Linked DNA regions of Homo sapiens: region 2 is linked to region 1. Evidence: promoter capture Hi-C in 16 types of primary human blood cells and fetal thymus (Javierre and others, 2016). All regions are on one chromosome and are shown on one strand. The core of a region is centred on a gene start or on the middle of the fragment in contact, and the rest is flanking DNA. Distances in the headings are between cores, read along the strand shown. Region 1 holds the start of KIF27 (kinesin family member 27). Region 2 overlaps AGTPBP1 (ATP/GTP binding carboxypeptidase 1).

Region 1 (3,326 bases), core at 195-2,694:
TTGGGAGGCCAAGGCAGGTGGATCGCTTCAGCCCACGAGTTCCAGACCAGCCTGGGCAACATGGTGAAACCCTGTCTCTACTAAAAATACAAGAATGTGCCAGGCTGTGGTGACGCACCTGTAGTCCCAGCTACTTGGGAGGCTGAGATTGGAGGATCGCTTGAGCCCGGGAGGTTGAGGCTGCAGTGTGCCACTGCACTCCAGCCTGAGTAACAGAGCGAGACCCTGTCTCAAAACAAAACAAACAAACAATAGTAATGGTCCACAAACATAGGGCTTGTAAAACATCAATATACAAGAAATAAAGTTTTTACACAATCCATAGCACTTATACTTCAGATTCTGATCAATTATAGTCATCAGAAACATACGTATTATGTTGCCAATAAATGATTTAAAAAAAAGCAAAATCTGATTGGTCGTATTTAAGTATACTCAACGGGTTTTTGAAATCTGAGCAAAGGCAAGAGAAATATTGAATCCCTCATGTCATGTCACTGGTCAGGAATGAGTGTCTCCAAAAACCGTTGCCATCCCGTACCCTTGATTTCCCAGAAAGCAGTGGTTGTCTTAAATGTGTGGTTTGTTAATTATTTTCATAAAAAACTTGCCAGTAGATGGACAGTAAATCGCATACGGAGCTCAGAAAAGGCCCCAAATGCGTAAAGACGACAAAAGAGTAAAGAAGGGCAAACAACAAGGATTTTCAACACTGGAGACTTAAAAGGTGTTACTTAAAAGGTGTTTCAAAGAAAGAATCTGGGCGCTTTGCTCTTTATAGTCACCTGCCTCCGAGGGAGGGAGCTCTCGGGCTTGAATGTGCCCAAGGTTCAACCTCTACGGTAGGAAATGCGCCCAAGTTTCAACCTCTACGGTGGGAAATGCGCCCAAGTTTCAACCTCTACGGTGGGAAATGCGCCCAAGTTTCAACCTCTACGGTGGGAAAAAGACGCCTGCGATAAAACAAAGCGCTCGGTGGTGGTGGCCCTCGCGTCGCACCTCACGCCGTGCAGCGACACGAGACGAACACAGGGTGCGCTCTGAAAGGCCGGGTCCCGCGTTCCGGTCGATCGGTGTTCCCCGGGACCCGCTCCTCAGGGCTGACCCAACTTCCTCCGGAAGGGGCGCTCTGCCTCTAGTCGCTCGCCGGCTCCCAGCCCCGACCCCAGACCCCTCGGACGCCCCCATAGGCCTAGCTGGCGCCCCAACCGCCCACCCTCCGCTACCCACCCGCGGCGGCCCCGACCCCAAGCCGGAGCCTACTAGTCCCAACGGCCGGCTGGGGGCGCGGGAGCGGCGGGCGCGGCGGGCTGGAGGGCGGGCACCGCGAAGGGAGGGCGCCCCACTTCCCCGCACCGCCCGCCAGGCCCGCCGAGCACTGACCGGCTCGGGACAGCCCAGGCCCCTGTCGGCGAGCGCTGGACTCCTCAGCTTCGCTCTGCCACACCGCGCAGCCGCCGTCCGCGTCTTTTGTTGTCGCGAGTTCTCCTGGCAACCGGCGAAGCCCGCCTCCCGCCGCGTCCTCTCCTGGATGCCGCGTCCTGGCCCCGCCCCCATCCTGGCCACGCCTCCAAGCCCGCCGCGCAGGAGTCCTGCGTCCCCAGGAAGTCCGCAAAGGGCCGGCCCCTGGGCTTGCCTGCAAATCCGAGTTGTGTCCCACCAACGCGCTGGGACCGGTCTGTGAGGCCTGAGCGCAAGCATCTTTCTACGGGTTCGTGAAATGAGTGAGAACGATTCCACACCGTGTTTCAATATCTTAGCTACCAATTCAGTTTATTTTTATTTTTATTGAGTAAAACTTGCCTAACATAAACCATCTTAAAACTCACAATTCAGTGGCGTTTAATGCATTCACAGTGTTGTGCAACCATCACCTCTGTATATAGTTCAGAAACATTTTCATAACCCCAAAAGAAAATCCCCAAACCAGTTAGCAGTCATTCCTTCTGGTTCCCCTCTCCCCACAACCCCAGCCAGCCACTAATCTACTTTCTGACTCTGTGATAGCTTTACCTATTCTGGGCATTTCTTTATTGATGGAATCATTCAGTATATGACCTTTTGTGTCTAGCTTCTTTTGCTTAATGTTTTCAAGATGCAGTCATGTTGTAACATCTATCAGGACTTCTTTTCTTTTTTTTCTTTTCTTTTTTTTGAGACCGAGTCGCGCTCTGTCGCCCAAGCTGGAGTGCAGTGGCGTGATCTCGGCTCTCTGCAACCTCCACCTCCCGGGTTCAAGCGATTCTCCTGCCTTAGCCTCCCGAGTAGCTGGGATTACAGGCGCGTGCCACCACGCCCGGCTAATTTTTTGTATTTTTAGTAGAGACGGGGTTTGTTTCACTGTGTTAGCCAGGATGGTCTTGATCTCCTGACCTCGTGATCTGCCCGCCTCGGCCTTCCAAAGTGCTGGGATTACAGGCGTGAGCCACCACGCCCGGCCCTTTAGATGGAGTTTCGCTCTTATTGCCCAGGCTGGAATGCAATGGCGCCATCTAGGCTCAACGCAACCTCCACCTCATGGGTTCAAGCGATTCTCCTGCCTCAGCCTCCGGAGTAGCTGGGATTACAGGCATGAGCCACCCTGCCCGGCCCTATCAGGACTTTTTAGGGCTGAAAAAATTCCATTGTATGGATATAGACATACCACATTTTGTTTATCCATTCTTCAGCTGGTGGTGGACATTTGGGCTGTTTCCATGCTGCTATGGACATTCACATACAATATTTGGATGTCTGTTTTCAGTTCCTTTTTTTTTTTTGAGATGGAGTCTCGCTCTGTTGCCCAGGCTGGAGTGCAGTGGCGCTATCTCAACTCACTGCAAGCTCCGCCTCATGGGTTCAAGCAATTCTCCTGCCTCAGCCTCTGGAGTAGCTGGGATTACAGGCATGTGCCACCACCACGCCTGGCTAAGTTTTCTGTATTTTTAGTAGAGACGGGGTTTCACCATGTTGGTCAGGCTGGGCTCGAACTCCCGACCTCAGGTGATCCGCCCACCTTGGCCTCCCAAAGTGCTGGGATTATAGGCGTGAGCCACCGCGCCGAGCCTGTTTTCAGGTCTTTTAGGTATGGACGTAAGAGTGGAATTGCTGGGTCGTATGGTAATATTTAACTTTACCAATTTAGTTTTAAATGCTTTAATGCCTCCTGTTTTTAGTAGCACAATCTAAGCATCTTCAAAAACCCTTCCTTCTCTCATGAAATATAGGAATGAAGGTGGGGGAAAAAAGCTGACTATTTTATTTATAGTTTTTATTTTTTTTTCTTTTAACTGAATTATTTAAAATTTTAAAAATTCAGTCTGGGCACAGTGGCTCACACCTGTAAT
Region 2 (3,652 bases), core at 666-3,165, 1.6 Mb after region 1:
AAATATAAAGACACAAAAGGCTAAAAACAAATACTAAACAAAAAGATAGCTTACGCTTACATACATAGTAACACCAGCAGGGTTAAGATTCTGTCAAATTTGTAATATTAACTCACACACTCAGAAGTTTCAAGCTTTTCCAATTAAAATAATTTTATAGATTAGTAGTTTTAAGCTCTGTTTAATTTACATCTAATCTTTAAATCTCCATTGTTATTTATAAAACTAAATTTATCTTTCACCAAAGCAATGGTGTAGAAACTAAATGGAACGACTGGCAACTTATTTTTCATAATTATCACAAATTCACTTTGAATAAGTCTCTTACCTTTTTCTTAGTTTATTTAAACAAAACTTAAATGTTATATGCAAAAAACCTGATGGTTCACAGTATTGTAAAGAGTAATTATATAATATCTGAAATTGGGCGAATATTTACATCCCCCCTCCCATCCCAATTCATATGTTGAAATCCTAATTCCCAAGGTGATGGTATTAGGAGGCGGGCCTTTGGGAGGTGATCAGGTCACAACAGCAGAGCCCTCTTGAATGGGATTAGTGCCCTTATAAAAGAGACCCCATAAAGATCCCTCAACCCTTCTGCCATATGAGGTTACAGTGAGATGACCACTGTCTATCAAAGAACAAGGCCCTCCCCAGACACTGAATCTGCTGATGCCTTGATCTTGGACTTCCCTGTCTCCAGAACTGTAAGAAATAGATTTCTCCTGTTTATAAGGTATCCAGTGTACGGTATTTTGTCACAGTAGCTCAAACAGACCAAGACAGAAACTGACACCAAGAACTGGGGGTGCTATTGTAACAAACATGTAAAAATGTGGCAGCAGTTTTGGAAGTGGGTAGTGAGTAAAAGCTGTAAGAGTATGGAGGTGCTTGCTACAAAAGGGATACATGGCTGTGAATGGCCCATAAAGAGCAATTCTGGTGAGGCTCAGAAAGAAAACAGGAAAGCTATAGAGAAAGCTTCAGACTTCTTAAAGAATACTTAATAATCCTGATAGAATGTTGGTAGAAATACGACAGTAAAGGCCATTCTGATGAGGTCTCAGATGAAAATGAGGATATTTGGCCAAGGAAATTTCTAAGCAAACTGTTGAAGGTATGGCTTGGCTTCTCTTGATTGCTTATAGTAAAATGCAAGACAAGAGAAATTAAAGATGGAATCATTCACGAGAGAGGAAGCAGAACTTAAAAATTTGGAAAACTCTCACCCTGTCTATATTGTAACAAACGAGAAAGACAGTTTGGGAGGAGAGAATACCAAGGGTGTAGCAAAAGGACCAACTGATAAGGCATAAAGTCAGCCAAATAAACAGAGCCAGGAGCTATTGTCCAAGACAAGAAAAGAACGACCACCCTCCCTGACAGGCAATTCAGAGATCATCAGAGTGGTTTCAAAAGAGGAGCCACCTGTGCCTGCAGGTTCACACACTCCACTCCCTGCAGTCTGGCACCCTGCTCCTCTGCAGCACAAGGTGAGGCTCTGGAAGGCCCAGGTGTGGTACACATGCAGTGGTCACCACTTCAGAGGGCACAGGCATTTGGCAGCATCCATGTGTGCTGTCTCTGCTGAGCCCCAGAATTCACCAGCCTGGGAAGCATGGTTACCTCCACCTAGATATCGAAGGATGGAGCCACAGGCACAACACCCAGGTAAGGAACCACCACAAGGGCAAGGCCACCACAAAGAGCTGCTACTAGGGCAAGGCCCAGCAAAGCCATGGGGGCAGGACTGCCTGGAGGCTTAGGGATCCAACCAATGGCCAGCAAAACTGCAGGGATGGAGCCTCCACTCTAGTGTGTCCAGAAGGTGGAACGGCAGCCCCAGTGGGCCTGAAGAGCAGAGAATGCAGCTAAAGATCATTTTCAAGCCTTCAGGTTTTGGACATGCTCAAGAATTGTCACTTCTTTTTCTTTTTGGAATAAAAATGTCTGTCCTGTTCTTGTCCTACCATTGTATTTTAGAAGCACCTAACTTGGTTGATTCCACAGGCTCACAGCTAAAGGAAAATTTGCCTCAGGACAAATTATACCTTGAATCTCACCCATATCTGATTTAAATGACACAGTCATATGCTCCAATGATGTTTCAGTCAACGATGTAATGCATATATGACAGTGGTCCCAATTATAATACCATATTTTTACTGTGCTTTTTCTATATTCAAATATGTTCAAATACAGAAATACTTCCCATTGTGTTACAATTATATATAGTATTCCATACGGTCACATGCTGTACAGGCTTGTAGCCTAGGAGCAATAGGCTATACCATATAGCCGAGGTGTGTAATGGGCTATACCATCTAGGTTACTACAAATACACTATATGATATTCATACGATGATGAAATCACCTAACAACACATTTCTCAGAATGTATTCCTATTGTTAAACGATGCATGACTATATTCAGATGAGTCTTTGGACTTTAAACTTTTGAGTTAATGTTGGAATAAGCGAACATTTTGGGACTATTGAGATGGAAATGATGTATTTTGCTTGTGAGAAGGACATGAATTTTGGGATGGGAACAGGGATGAAGGGTAATGAACTGAATGTTTATGTCACATGAGGTTACAGTGAGAAGAAGGCCACCTATGAGGAAGCAGGCCCTCACCAAACACCAAATCAGCCATTGCCTTGCTCTTGGACTTCACAATCTCCAGAACTGTGAGACATAAATTTCTGTCATTTATAAGCCATCCAGCCTATTGTATTTCATTATGGCAGCCTGAGCTGACTAGGACAACATCTGTCAATGAGTTACTACTTATGTTGAAAAAGACATTTAATGTAAATATTTATTCTTATTGCTGCAAGTATTCAAGCTTATTTGATATACATTGCCTACAAATGAAAATAAATTAATTTATAACAGATACTGTATCTCGGGAAATAGTTAAAACCAAGAAGGATAAAACTGAATTGAGGGCTAAGTTGTGGAATAACACGATCCACACTGCAGACAGGTTGAATAAAGCAAAATTCTGGCAGGGAAAGATGGATTTGAAAAATTATGAAAGGGTGAACTCAACTAAAAAAAAAGTTAGGGGAATTTATATTCATTAACTTGATACCTCAGTTTCACATTACGACCAGGAAATAGATTAAAAATTACAAGGACAAAGAAGGGATCCAGAAGAGCACAGACAATAAAGAGAAAAGGACAGGGGGGTGATCTTAGTAAAAGGTAAGTGGTCTCCTAGTTCCATCTCTAACACTGTCATTTACCCTTTTCACTTACACTTGGAAATGTGTCTTCCCCTACTGATTCCATGCTGCCAAATGCCTGTGCCCTACTGATTCCATATTCATCATTATGACCCTCCAATGCTACCTAATACTATCTCCTCAAGCAATCATTGCCCCTTATCCTCACTATTCTTATTGGAGCACTCATCCTCGTCTCAAATGTAAATGATTCCAAACACCTTCCTTAAGAATTTTTTTGCCTCCACCTTCCCAGTTTCAAAAAAATGCATATACTTCTTTCAGGTAAAATAGTGGCATACTTTGCCAGTGGCTTTAAAACTCCCAAATGACTAAAGGATAAAGTCTAATGTGCTTACATGGTTAATTTGGGCACTATAAGACAGTGCTCTTCCCAGAAATCTAATTCAATTGAATTT

Evidence for each region. Contacts are between HindIII fragments. The CHiCAGO score rates a contact against its expected background, and 5 or more counts as called.
Region 2: a fragment that was not itself captured here is called in contact with the fragment with the promoter of KIF27 in region 1 in 1 of 17 cell types (monocytes); the score reaches 5.7 in monocytes.

Annotation. Positions count from the first base shown.
Region 1 is chr9:83,919,988-83,923,313 of GRCh38, forward strand. It overlaps KIF27 (kinesin family member 27), which reads right to left and starts at 1,445. Exons shown (of 18, transcript NM_017576.4): 1 at 1,384-1,445. LOC105376335 (serine/arginine repetitive matrix protein 1-like) reads left to right here and starts at 914. Exons shown (of 3, transcript XM_011519284.2): 1 at 914-1,274; 2 at 1,367-1,711. The coding sequence starts at 914. RefSeq lists enhancers at 977-1,726, 2,341-2,845 and silencers at 1,048-1,427, 1,458-1,607. The HindIII fragment of the contact is 5,103 bases long and covers 1-3,326 here.
Region 2 is chr9:85,562,380-85,566,031 of GRCh38, forward strand. All of the region lies in intron 25 of AGTPBP1 (ATP/GTP binding carboxypeptidase 1), which reads right to left. Among named protein-coding and RNA genes, the nearest start is that of AGTPBP1, 180 kb to the right of the region's middle. The HindIII fragment of the contact is 1,867 bases long and covers 983-2,849 here.